5 separate regions of the Homo sapiens genome follow, and regions 2, 3, 4 and 5 are each linked to region 1. The links are contacts of gene promoters, found by promoter capture Hi-C in blood cells and fetal thymus (Javierre and others, 2016). All regions are on one chromosome and are shown on one strand. The core of a region is centred on a gene start or on the middle of the fragment in contact, and the rest is flanking DNA. Distances in the headings are between cores, read along the strand shown.

Region 1 (2,700 bases), core at 30-2,529:
CCTCACAGGTATTTCCAAATCCCTCTGTATGTTCTTTGATTATTGTCTCTCACATCGTATCCATTTATCAAGGAACAAGCTTGTTCCTCCACACAGAGCGGTTCTTAAGTAAGGGCAGGAGAAGCCATATGGTTATCCTCCGGCCCAGGCTGTCAGGTGGTTGGTATTCGGTCTGTATATACTCTGATGCAATCAGTTTTTGAAGGAAAGAACGGTAAGCGCAAATAGAACCATAGCTTGTGTAGCAGGGTTCATGTAAGCAGTGGTTCTTACTGAAAAACAGACCCTGTTCTCTCGGGCTCACTTCTTCCTCCGTGTGAACCACTAATAGGAGGGGACCGAAGGCTGAGGCCAGGCCACCTGGAAGCCCACAACGCTGCTAGTAGCAGCGACAGCAGTAACAGCAACTCACCACTGTAAAATCCTCAGTGCGTTTCCATGTGCTTTCCCTGTCATCTAAATGCTTCTCTTCAGCGGCCTAAGGTGGCCCTTCTTTTTCCCCGAGTTCAGGGAAACACCTCCCTTCTTTCAGAATGTGAGAAAAAAATGGGATTTTCCTGGGGCTGAGAGTGGGGATTCCCTTTCCAGAAACGTGCAATTTTTTCATCCCGCCCACCTGGACTGAAGGCAATCAAAGCGAGGGAGCTCGTGGCATAGTGGAACACTCCAAGCACCCTGGCCCCCCTCCTCCCAGAGAAGGGTCTGGAGCCCCGCAATCCGCTAATTAGCTCGCCCCCATTGGTTGTCCCCAAGGCACCCCCGTGCCGTCACTGTGCTATGCTAATGAGGGGGAGTCTCATTGGCTGGGCCTCCAGCTCCATCTCCACAGGGAGATTGCGGGGAGAGCCGGGTTGGCCGCGTCTGGGGCCGAAACCCACCGCCCCCGATTCCCGCCAGCTCAGGGCTGTGCCGGATGCAAGCCCGCCCGAGGGAACAGTAGCCGGGAGGCTGCCCTCTGGGAGGATCTGGCAACTGCCTTTAAGGAAAGTGCTTCACCATCAAGCGGCGCTCACTCCCACCCCTCTCCCCTCTTTCTAGGCACCGCGCGTCTTTTTCGGCGAAGTAACTTTTTATACCCGCCTCCCCCTAGTCCTGGGGACCAGAGGCGGTGCCGAGCCTGGGGGCGGTTCCTTGGCAGCGTTGATTCTTGTCAGAGCCAGACTTTTGCTCCTGGGTTGGGTTTGCATCATCCCCATTACACCCTCGGGAAAGAGGAGCCAGCCCCCTTTCAAGCCTTAGCTTCCGGCTCCAAGCGGACCCCCTCCCCCTCCCTGTCCCCTTCCCCTTCTCCCATCCCTCTCTCGGCCACAGCGTCTTGTTAGTCCTCTCCCTGTACTCCGCAATATTTTCTTTCTTTCTCCCTCCTCTCCTCCATTTGTTGTTTGATGTTTCCCACTCTTTGAGGAAGGATGGTTGATTTGGAGAGCGAAGTGCCCCCTCTGCCTCCCAGGTACAGGTTTCGAGATTTGCTGCTAGGGGACCAAGGATGGCAAAACGACGACAGGTGAGTGGTGTGGTGGAGGATTGTTCTGTAAATATTGCTGAAAAAGAGACGGAAATGGGAGGGCCGAAGTGGGGAAAGGAGGGAGAAAAGGAAAACGGAGCCAGAGAGGGAGACTAGGCTGGGGGAGGGAGTAAAAGAGACTCTGATTTGTCTCTCCATTTTGACTCTATATAACTGTTGCTATAGATAAGGAACTCTTTTTCTTTACACTTTTCTTATTCTTGCAAGGTATTTATTGCATTCATTTGGTGCTTATTCTTTTGTCTATCTGTGCTTTTCTAGGATGTGTATAAGGCTGGTATCAGAGGTACAATACACCCAAATGGTATGCAATATCATTTCCAGAAAATTTGCATTTTTTCCTTAGGTGTGGTTAATCAAACTCAAAATTGCATGCAAGTTGTTTGAAAAAGCACATTAGAAACTTAAAATCTCCTGAGTCTATTTACCTCCTCCTTGTCTGTGTTGTCTTGAGTAGGTATCTACTTGGCACTGGAAATTTTATGCTGTTTAAACATTTTGGAGTTTTAAGTAGACAATTGGTTTAAATATGTAACAGGTAGTTAGTGAAAATGACAACCTTTTTAATACAATATACTCACTTTGAACAGGTGACTCTGACCATTATGAATAATGATGTTTGTATAACATGATACAACCTTTTCATAACTAGTATATTTTTTTAACTGAAACAGAATATATGTCTCAAAATTAAAATTAAGTTTCAAAACTAGAATATTTATTGTTAGCAAAATATTGTTCATGTGTTTTATTTATAGCATTACTGCTTTGCACAAACTTCTGAAATTCCTCTGTCTATTTCTGTCTCAAGCACATTTTGTATTTCAGCGAATTTAGTATTTTCTGGAATAGTCATCCCATATATCACATGCCACATTTCTTTGTTTTAAAATAATACATGTATACTAACTAGGTTCTCAACTCAATTGAAATGTTTCATTGAAGTTTAGTTTAGTATTGATGTGCTATTTTAGTTATATAAAAGATCCATTATTGGTCCAATCCAAAATCCCCTCCTCATTCACCACTGACCAATACACTCTATTTCTTTTCTTCACCTTTTCAGCTCCCAATACCAACTCCTGTCTCTACACACTGAGGATTTTATCTTGAGCATCAATTATGGGCATCTTGTTTGGTCTCATATTAGTAATTTGAAAGGAGATGGATGTTTT
Region 2 (2,700 bases), core at 80-2,579, 450 kb after region 1:
ACTAGGCCCCAACAAACCAAACCAAACAAAACAAAAATGGAGTTGTTCAGGCTAAATGTGACATAATCAAACTAAGACTTCATTTATTTTATTTTATTTTATTTATTTATTTATTTTTATTATTATACTTTAAGTTTTAGGGTACTTGTGCACAATGCGCAGGTTAGTTACATATGTATACATGTGCCATGCTGGCGTGCTGCACCCATTAACTCGTCATTTAGCATTAGGTATATCTCCTAATGCTATCCCTCCCCACTCCCCCCATCCCAAAACAGTCCCCAGAGTGTGATATTCCCCTTCCTGTGTCCATGTGTTCTCATTGTTCACTTCCCATCTATGAGTGAGAACATGCGGTGTTTGGTTTTTTGTCCTTGCGATAGTTTACTGAGAATGATGATTTCCAATTTCATATATGTCCCTACAAAGGACATGAACTCATCCTTTTTTATGGCTGCATAGTATTCCATGGTGTATATGTTCCACATTTTCTTAATCCAGTCTATCATTGTTGGACATTTGGGTTGGTTCCAAGTCTTTGCTATTGTGGATAATGCCACAATAAACATACGTGTGCATGTGTCTTTATAGCAGCATGATTTATAGTCCTTTGGGTATATACCCAGTAATGGGATGACTGGGTCAAATGGTATTTCTAGTTCTAGATCCCTGAGGAATCGCCGCACTGACTTCCACAATGGTTGAACTAGTTTACAGTCCCACCAACAGTGTAAAAGTGTTCCTATTTCTCCACATCCTCTCTAGCACCTGTTGTTTCCTGACTTTTTAATGATTGCCATTCTAATTGGTGTGAGATGGTATCTCATTGTGGTTTTGATTTGCATTTCTCTGATGGCCAGTGATGATGAGCATTTTTATGTGTCTTTTGGCTGCATAAATGTCTTCTTTTGAGAAGTGTCTGTTCATATCCTTTGCCCACTTTTTGATGGGGTTGTTTGTTTTTTTCTTGTAAATTTGTTTGAGTTCATTGTAGATTCTGGATATTGGCCCTTTGTCAGATGAGTAGGTGTTTCTTTAAAGTCTTAGTTTGAAATTTTCACAATCAAACTAAGACTTTAAAGAAACACGTAGATTTTAGATTAGAACAGACTTGGTTTTGTTTTCTCCTGTAAACAGAACATTCCAGCACAAGGAGGTACCCTCTACTTATTCCTTGTTTCTACCTTTGCAGTACCCACTGTTTTGTTTTTCAGTGGGTTTCAAGACCAAATATGTACATTTACAAAGGTGATAGTGACATCAATGTCCAAAGTTTTGGTCAATCTCTCAAAATTAAGAAAATGACCAAAAGTGGGGAAATGTTAACAAAAACTAAATATGGCCGTACTTCTATATTTGAGTTCTTGTGGATGAACTGAAACCTAACTTAATAGGTAGACAAGATTGAAAACCTAACTTAGAAGTATGTGCCTGCAACAATTGCTGAGTCTTGGCCAATCTCAGCAACCATACTTCAACCAGTCATACACTGCTGAGTGTTCAAACTATGTTCAAATAAGGCAAACTCCGAGCTGTTATCAATCCAACTGTTTCTGTACCTCACTTCCAGTTTCTGTATGTCACTTTACTTTTTCAGTCTATAAATTTGTTCTGACCACGAGGCACCCCTGGAGTCTCTCTGAATCTGCTGTGATTATGGGGCTGCTGGATTCATGAATTGTTCATTGCTCAGTTAAACTCCTTTAAATTTAATTCAGCTGAAGTTTTCCTTTTAACAATCACAAAGAGGAAATGTTAAAAAAAAAGAAACTGAGCATGTTTCATCAGTAAGGCTTATTTTCAACAGTGTTTTCATTTGAATAAGGTAAATGCACACAACATATCTAAATAAGCTGTGCTGTTATCAATTAATCATACACATGCTTCTAGAAATTTTAGAATATAAATAAAACTATAGGAGAGCATTATAATTCACAATACCAGTACCCAAACATTTGTTATTAATACATTTGTGTTTTTCTTTTTAGGGCTATCTCAATGTAGTATGTATTTTAAATATTACACTACACTGCATAAGCACTTTTGTGTCTTAGTTTTTAAACTTAGTATTATACTGCGATAGCTACCAAAGCTGTTAAGAATTTTTCAAAACATAATTTCCAGAGCTGCATAATATCTCATTATTTATATACATCAAAATGTAACTATTTTCATATGATCAGTTTTTAAGTTATTGCCTCTGAACTCTAAACCCACCTTCCTATATTCCTCATGATTTCTAAGATACTATATAATGTACCATGAAGTGGAATATAGGAGGAATATTTAGATCCTCTGTTTTATATGACACTATAATTAAAATTTTGATTTGTACTTTTAGGATCTACATGTTTGTATCTATGATTATAGTTAAAGATTTATTGTAGTTACATGTTAGAACACCTACTCCTTACTCCTGATTCTTCCCAACTGGTAGACAGTTATTAGAGCAATATTCTTGGCCTCTCAGAATGAAACATTTAGGAGCAGGAACTAAGAAGATGTTTAAATCTCAGCCCTGCCCTTCTCCTCTTCATTTGAGACCTGTAATCCTGTAGAGAACATGTGCCCCAGTGTACTTTTGTGCCTTAAGTTTATCAATGAAAGCTCTGTCTTAGTAGGAAGGCCTGCAGTTCTTCAGGGCGGTCTGTGATCAGATGGGCAAGTCTTCGTTTCTGGGCTTTAGTATTAGAAACAATA
Region 3 (2,700 bases), core at 77-2,576, 290 kb after region 1:
GTTGTGGATAAAGAGAGCACCATGAGTGCCGAGGAAGACTACATGGCAGATGCCAAAACCATTGTGAACGTGCAGACACTCTTCAGGTAAGTGGCTGAATCATCCAACCTTGCCACTTACTTTGTGCTAAACATTGGTAAAATATTTGACACTGACTCTGTGAGGAATGAACATGAGACACACCAACTTTATGTTCATTTATTCATTTTTTTCATAAAGTAAATGTTTATTGAGCATGACTGGCACTGCATAAAGTTAAATTTTTAACACCAGATCAGTAATGCTTCTCATAAAACAAATTGAATGATATATCTATTTTCTCAGATAGTTTAACAGTAGCAAATTCTTGAAAATCATGTGTACTAGTAGTCATGAGTTTTGACAAGCAGCCCATGTTCTCGTATTGGTATTAAGCCTAGCAGTGACCAAATATTTGCATTTACATACTGAATAGCTAGGACTGAAAGACTGCACAGCTGTGAACAGGTAAGTTACCCATGTTAGGAGCAAAGTCATGACATCATTTTCACTGTTTTCCTGTCTTTTATTAATTAAATGTACCCATTGAATTTAATTAATTGAATTTAATTTAATGGGGATATGAATCCCCATTATGGTTGTCTTTGGGTAAGAGTAAACAATCCTGACTAGAGAAAGAGCCATGCTATAAGTAAAGTCAAACTCGTCTGTCATTCAAGGCATCTGTTTCACTTGGAACAATTCTCCCTAAAATCATATGAAATTTTAAATATCCAAAAGACCATTTTTTAAGTTGTATGAGTTTTGCAGAAGCCTGAAGAAAATACGTGAGCTACCAAATTACAGAGGTAAATGAAACAATCTCAACTTTCTCATCATCCATGTTCACTCCACTTTCATACTTTCATATTGTAGTAAAGCATATATTGAGGTTAATTATTTTGCCTTCTAATTTGAGTTCAAAATTCAAAGGAGAGAGCCTAGATGCGTGTCTGTGTTAAGTTGCCTATTTTTAGTATGATCTTAGGCAAATTACTTTTCTTCTCTACATCTCAATATATTAATCACAATATTATTAAAGATTTAGAAACATGCAATGCCTTACTTAGCACATACCTGGTCATTTTTAATTACTTAATAAATATTAGCTATTAATATTACTAGCAGTATAATTATCACTTCCATGTGGCAGAAGGGAAAAGCCACTGACCTTGGACTATACAGCAGCAAACTTTATCTGGCACAATGTATATCCTAGAGGCTCCAGCTGACAGTCACTAACTTTGTGACCTTCCTAACCTCATTAAGATTCAGTTTTTCTCATCTATAAAATGCTGCAGAAAATAACCGACCTTGCAGTGTTAATGTAAAGATTAGAGATCAGTTATTTAAAGAATCTGTCATAGCACCTGGAAAATCTACACTGAATTTGCATAAGAACCTCTTGTTCCAGAAGAAGAAATACACACTTTAAAGTTATTATAATGCAGCAGTTCACTTAGAATATAGCTAACTAGTTAACTAGTGAGCTGTATTAAACAGTACATTTTTAAAAGACACTATATAGAACTTGTTTAAAATATTACAGATATATAAATTTTTTTTCTCTAGAGAATATAAAAGAAAATTACAGGGTAGAAAATTAATTCAAGGATGAGATTTATAGCTAGTGAGTAGGGTAAAAATCATGCTTTTTGATTCCATGCTTGGCAAAAGCTAATTATATAAAAGAGGATCCTAGGTCTTTTTAATTAAACATGTTATTTAAACTTTCAATTTACCATGAATTTTATTTCTATTATGGTGACATTTCTATTGATTTAACTTTTATTATATATTCTCTGGATGAATTATTTTGATTCCAAGGAAATAATAAATCCCCATCTTACTGAGAGGTTCAAAGGCTGTAATTAGTAATTTAAAACAAATTAACTCACCATAGTAATCATGGACAGATACATATATGGCAACTAATTGTGCAAAGGCTATGTTACTCTGAGTACCTAGCTGAAGATGTGATTACCACTTGTTGAATGAATGAATGGATGGATGAATGAATGAATTAATAACTTTGGATACCTTAACTATTAGGCTTATCTGTCTTCAGCAGTATATTTTAAAAATTATATAGTTTTTATGGTATATATATAGTAATCTAGACTGAATAGTTTTGAGCAGAATTTTTCAAAAGAACTATTAAAAACCCAAATTGCAAAGAAATTACCTCTGTTCTTTCCTTTCTTATGCCCTATCATGACATTACTATTATTTCTCTAAGTATATAACAGTATTTTTTAGGAAAAAATTATATGAAACTTTTTTTTTGTGTTGTGTGTTAAGCTGCTAATCTGTGTATGCTAAGCTAGGCTAGTTTTACATGATAAAAAGTAAGACAGACATTTATAGGTTTCTATGATATAAGAAGAATCACTTTTGCTCATAAATGACCAAAATCACACAGACTTGGGAGTTGCATTTTACAGATGTGGTTAATTATCATCCTCCAGATCACTCTTCTGCATTCCTTGGAGATTTTAGTTCCTGATTTACTATGACTCTTGCCAACCCTGATTATCATAATTATTGATGATTTCAACAATCTTACCTAGATGATCCTTTGAATATCTGACCTTCACCACCCATTCTCATGGTCATAGCCTAAACCTTGAACTATGAATAATTTTACACTCCACATTCTCAGTTTCTAGCATTCAACACTCT
Region 4 (2,700 bases), core at 9-2,508, 480 kb after region 1:
ATTAAAAATGAAAAATATAAAATATTATTAAATAACTTATTTAAAAGTAACCATAATACACTCATTACATTTTAACATGAGTAACATATTTATATGACAAATAACTATATTTTTCAAAAACCATAAGATGAAGAGTGGCACTGTTTTACAATTTTGTAAATTTCTTAAAGATTGGCTTAATAGGAGACAGCTACAATTTCATATTTTCTTCTTCTTTTACTCTGTTGCAATAAAGGCATCATGTACCTTCTGGGAAATTACGCTGTACACTTGTGAAGAACGAGAGTGAAAAAAGCAAATATTGTTTTACTATTATTTTGAAAATGTTTTTGACCTCATAGACCCTCTGCAAAGGACTTCCAGGGATCCCAAAGAACACTTTGAGAATCACAAGGCTAAGGGAATCACATGGTTGGGATGGATGCTTGTAGGTGCTGTTGCTGCCGTTGCTGGATAGGATGTTACCAAAAATAAATATAATTTTCTTTAGTATTTTGGCTAGGGCTTGCTCTGTGTTCATGATACCAATATTAGAAATGCGACATTTATTTATTAGATGCTTTCCCATATTTTGTCTAATTTACTTCCTGTAAACACCGAATTGTCCTTTATCCTGACAGAAATTGTTGAAACCCACTTTGATACAGAAGGAATATGAAGTTCAACGTGGCAAGTAACTTGTCTTGACATGCACAACCAAATAATAGCAGAGATTGTCTCCCATGGCTATGTTCTTTCCAGAACATCTATGCTTTCCCCTTAAGCAATAATTTCTCAATACAGCAATAATTAGGACTTATGGGAAAATGAAGATTACTTGTAAATATAGTACAAAGAAAGGACTTAAATAAAGCCTTATGTGGGGAACTTGAAAACGGACAGAAGCCATAGGTCAAATGTGAGGAAAACAGATTTTTATTGTATTAGCATAACAGTAACTACAACAAAAATGATGACATCTACTGAATAAAATTAAAGCTTACATGGAGAGCATCTTTTGGGATGGGTGGTTCACTTAAGCACCCCTGACAGGCATTCTATGGAGAAAAAATCAGTTGTATTTTGGAGGAATTGAGGGAAAGGAAAAACTCAGGGGTAGTTAGCCTGAAGCACCTATACTGGAAGACATGAGAGTCATACAGACAATTTGGGGAGCCATGATTGGAGATGTAACAAGGACTTCAGAGTCAGCTCTTTGGCTTATCATCTACACAATTTATATAAATTCCATTTCAGTAAACCTATATATCCACAGAAAGAGTTTTTATAAAGTTTTTTAAATGTGGAATATAAGATTTCAAGTGTGTAGCTTATCTCATTTCATTATTCTTGCTGCCAGATTCACTTTATTTCTGCATAAAATGGTGACACCTTGGGTTATTGGGTTGGTTTTTCCTTTGTAAATAACTCCAGCACTTTCCTCTGATAGGCAATTCAGATTATTACTTATGAGAGCCATCAAGCTGCAGATACATTTAGCTGCATCAAAAATAAAATACCCATTGCCTTACAATTCATGATATGTCCAGAAAGCTTAAATATTTTAGTATGTGTAATATATTTTGTCACTGTAAGTCACTTTCACAACTGACTGTGCAAAAAGTTATCAGATGGTTGCCAATATTTTCTCAATTTTGAATCTACCTGCATGTCATTTGCTAAACAGTTTCCAAGACTAAATCATATAAAGAATTGCTATAATGTTTATAAGAATGGAGGTGCATCCAATGTTATCTACAGCTAAAATGAAACATGTCCATAGTACTGGGGCTTTTGTCATCATCTTATAACCACATCTGGCATGAAGATATAACCATGTCACACTTATCTGTCATTATAATGAAATTCATTTAATTTTCTTTCTTGACAATCAAATGATGGCATAATAAAAGGCAGAGGAAAGTTATGTTAATGTTTATGTGAGAGTGAGACAGATAACCCACCCTCATGTCAATGATGTCTGCTGGGGATAGTTTCAGCTTCTACATAGAGGTAAGGAATGTATTATTTATAATCCAAGATAATAATCCATTTAATTACTGTGTGCGTTAGTTTCCTCCTGGTGCTGCAACAAATTGCCACAAGTTTTGTGGCTTCAAACAACATCAACTTGTTATCTTACAGTTCTGAAAGCCAGAAATTTGAAATGCGTCTGAAGAGGTTAAAAATCAACATGTCAACAAAGCTATGTCCCTTCTCAAGGCTCCAAAGGAGAATCTTTTTCTTTGACTTTCCTAGTTTCGTGAAGCCCCACACATCTCTTGGCTCATGGTCTTTTCCTCCAGAGGAAATCACTCCAACTTCTGCTTCCATTCTCCCATCTCATTTTGTATCCCTCCTATAAAGCTTATGGTTACATTGAACCCACCCATACAATCCAAGATAATCTCACTATCTCAAGAACCCTATTTTAATTAAATCTGTAAAGTCCCTTTTGCCATGGAAGGTAACATAATCACTGGTTCTGGGAATTAGGACTTAGGTGTCTCTGGAGGTCATTATTTTGTTTATCAGACAAAGACACTTGATTACTGATTCGCTCATGTACCTGCCCAAATTGCAAATGCTTACCAAGTAATTGCAAATTATCCTACAAGATAATTTGCCAGGTAAAAAGCAGAGATTCTGCCATCAAGTCGCTTAAAGTCAAGCCTGATATGATGAGTCTGATATGATGAGTTTGATACAGTGACTTTATTG
Region 5 (2,700 bases), core at 51-2,550, 270 kb after region 1:
GACAAATTTCTCCAAAGTGTTGTGTTTAGTGGCAGGCTTTAAATTTTATTGTTGTCCTATGTCCATGATTCTACCCAGTTCAATCTGACACCTGCAGTCATATCACTGAAACTATTCAGGCAAGGTCACCATGTTCCTCTTTGTCACTACATCTAAAATGATTGTCTTCACAGTATATGACAAGAATATTGACCATGTTCTTCCTGAAACACTCTAATGCCTTTTTTTCTGCTTTGTGCACATTCATTTTCATTGTGTGGTCACTTCTGTTCTCATGGATTCTATTGTCCGTAAACTGATTATTCCTCTGTCTAAAGCATTAACTCAACATCTCTTTACAGCAACGCGAACTGTCTACTAGTTATTTCTGTTTGAGTATTTTGTGGGAAAAACTGGCACAGCATATTCAAATTAAACTGATCCTTACACTCTCATTCAGTCATTCAACACCGTTTTTCTCCTTCTCCTTTTTTTTTTTTTTTTTTTTTTTTTTGCTAAAAAGCAGATGACACCATTATCCTTTGATCTGTAAGGCCACCATTCTGACTTTTCACCACCCGCTCTTCTCATACCTCATCATTAACCAAATTCTATTAAATCTGGTCAGTAAATAGCCCCTAGAATCATTCAGTTTTTTTCCATGTCCACCACCAACATCATCGTGGTCTGTGCCTCCATCCTTCTCTCCCTGAACTGCAGGATCAACAACCTTGTCTTTTTTCCATGCCTCCAGCCTTGCCACTCTACACTTAATTCTCCATCCTGCCACCAGAGTAAAAATTTTTAAATATAATTTTGATAGCATCATTTCCTGAACAAATCACCTGCTTTATACTACCCATTGGAAAAAAAAGTCTAAATTCTGTAGTGTGACTTAACTTATAAATAGGATAACCAAAAGTTCTTGTTTGCATTAGGCAATCCTAGTTTTCTTAGGAATGTTCCAGTTTCTTAGGATTGTTCAGTTTATATAATTGTCCTGATGTAATTATTAAAAGAACCCCCTTTTACTCTGCAGTATCCTAGTTTAGAAAATAAATTACTTCATCATTTTCTTTATAGGCTTTTTATTAGTGATATTTTCTGACTTTTCTAGCTCCACATTTTACCACCTCTTTGCTGCTCTCCTGAGCTCCAAACATACTCACTTTCTTTCAATCTTCACTAATATATTTTTTTCACCAATGGGCCTTAAAACATTAAGTTTCCTCTGATGGAACTATTCCTCACACCCCAACATTCCCTAAGTAATGACTTCTAATTCTTTATATCTTAGTCAAAATATCACTCCCTCCAAACACTATTCCATGGTTTTACCTAGACCTTCTTAGGTAATCCTATTTGTCATTTACTTATTTTTATTCTACAGTAGCAATATTCATTTTTAATGTCTTCAAAAAGTACTTATTGTGTGCCTAATATGTACCCAAAATAGTATTTATTGAGTACCTAATATGTACCAAGAACTCTCGTGTAAGTGTTTGTGATAAAACGTTAGTGAAGAAACAAAGATCCCTAGTTCATAGAGCTTGCATTCTATTATGGAGAAGACAGGCGATAACCAAAGTACATATAAAAAAATAAGTAAATTACTTAATATGCTAGTGGGTTATAAGTTATAAAGGAAAAACTAAAAGAAGAAAACAGAGCTAGTATAGGAGATAATTAATTTTTGGGAGGAGCAGATTTTAAATGAAGTGCTTAGTAGGCCAGAAAGTGATGTTTGAGCAGATACCTGAAAGAAATGAGGAATTAGTCCTGTGGAGGTCTGGAGAAAGAGATAACAGCTGGTACAAAGGCCCTAAAGTGGGAGCCTGGCTGGGGTTCTCCAGGAACAGTAACAGGGCCCTTTGTGCCTCAAACACAGTGAATGCTGGAAGAATAGTAGGAGATGAGGACGAACAGGTAGAAAGAGGCCAGATCCTGTTGGGCTTATTTAAGTCCATATGGGATTGCAGCTTCTACTCTCAGTGAAGTGGGAATTATTGCAAGGCTTTATGCAGAGCCATTGACCTGATCTCACCTATGCTGAGTGCTCAACTCAGGCTGCTGTTGAACATAGATGGTTTGGAGCAAGGATCAGACTATTTTCAAGTGGAAGTGGTAAGAAGGAGAAAATTCTGCATGTACTTTGAGGATAATCAGGATTCCTTACAAAATGAAATTGAACTGTGAGAAAAAGAGAAGTGTGAAGAAACATAAGGTTTTCGGATTAAGCAACTAGGGAAAGAGAATGGCCATAAATTTAGAGGAAAGGCTAGGGGGAATGCAGGTTTTGCGGGGGTGAAGGGAAGATAAAGAGTATTTTGGAACACCTTGAAGATGTCTAACAGGAAGTTGTATGTAAGAGTCTAGATTTCAGGAGAGAGAGAGAGATAGGCTGAAAAAGTAAATTTTGTATTTCTGATCTTATGTATATATTTAAAGCCATAAGACCAAATGAAGTCTTTGAGGAAATGAGTACAGGCAGGAAAAAATAAAAGACAAAGCTCTGCAGTATACTAAGATTAAGTATCAGGGGGATGAGAAGAAACCAGCAAAGGAGACCAAAGAGGAGCTACTGGCAGGCTAGTAGGAAAACCCAATGAGTGAGGTGTCCTGGAATCCAAGTGAGCTAAGTGCATTAAGACAACACCATGTAAAGCCATGTCTGATAGGTCATGGCTGAAAGCCAAGTACTGATAGGTCGTAACATAAGGA

The links. The method cuts DNA at HindIII sites, captures the fragments that hold promoters and counts their contacts. A CHiCAGO score of 5 or more calls a contact.
Region 2: a contact is called between a fragment that was not itself captured here and the fragment with the promoter of KCNT2 in region 1, in 2 of 17 cell types (fetal thymus and erythroblasts). The highest score is 5.6, in fetal thymus.
Region 3: a contact is called between a fragment that was not itself captured here and the fragment with the promoter of KCNT2 in region 1, in 1 of 17 cell types (megakaryocytes). The highest score is 5.2, in megakaryocytes.
Region 4: a contact is called between a fragment that was not itself captured here and the fragment with the promoter of KCNT2 in region 1, in 1 of 17 cell types (M1 macrophages). The highest score is 5.4, in M1 macrophages.
Region 5: a fragment that was not itself captured here is called in contact with the fragment with the promoter of KCNT2 in region 1 in 1 of 17 cell types (megakaryocytes); the score reaches 5.0 in megakaryocytes.

The regions. Positions count from the first base shown.
Region 1 is chr1:196,607,019-196,609,718 of GRCh38, reverse strand. It overlaps KCNT2 (potassium sodium-activated channel subfamily T member 2), which reads left to right and starts at 1,279. Exons shown (of 28, transcript NM_198503.5): 1 at 1,279-1,504. The coding sequence starts at 1,410. RefSeq lists an enhancer at 428-944. The HindIII fragment of the contact is 4,315 bases long and covers 82-2,700 here.
Region 2 is chr1:196,155,711-196,158,410 of GRCh38, reverse strand. No RefSeq gene overlaps it. Among named protein-coding and RNA genes, the nearest start is that of LINC01724, 68 kb to the right of the region's middle. The HindIII fragment of the contact is 4,007 bases long and covers 1-2,700 here.
Region 3 is chr1:196,313,278-196,315,977 of GRCh38, reverse strand. It overlaps KCNT2 (potassium sodium-activated channel subfamily T member 2), which reads left to right. Exons shown (of 28, transcript NM_198503.5): 21 at 1-86. Among named protein-coding and RNA genes, the nearest start is that of LINC01724, 230 kb to the right of the region's middle. The HindIII fragment of the contact is 3,629 bases long and covers 1-2,700 here.
Region 4 is chr1:196,131,048-196,133,747 of GRCh38, reverse strand. No RefSeq gene overlaps it. Among named protein-coding and RNA genes, the nearest start is that of LINC01724, 44 kb to the right of the region's middle. The HindIII fragment of the contact is 555 bases long and covers 981-1,535 here.
Region 5 is chr1:196,336,742-196,339,441 of GRCh38, reverse strand. All of the region lies in intron 16 of KCNT2 (potassium sodium-activated channel subfamily T member 2), which reads left to right. Among named protein-coding and RNA genes, the nearest start is that of MIR4735, 240 kb to the left of the region's middle. The HindIII fragment of the contact is 4,991 bases long and covers 1-2,700 here.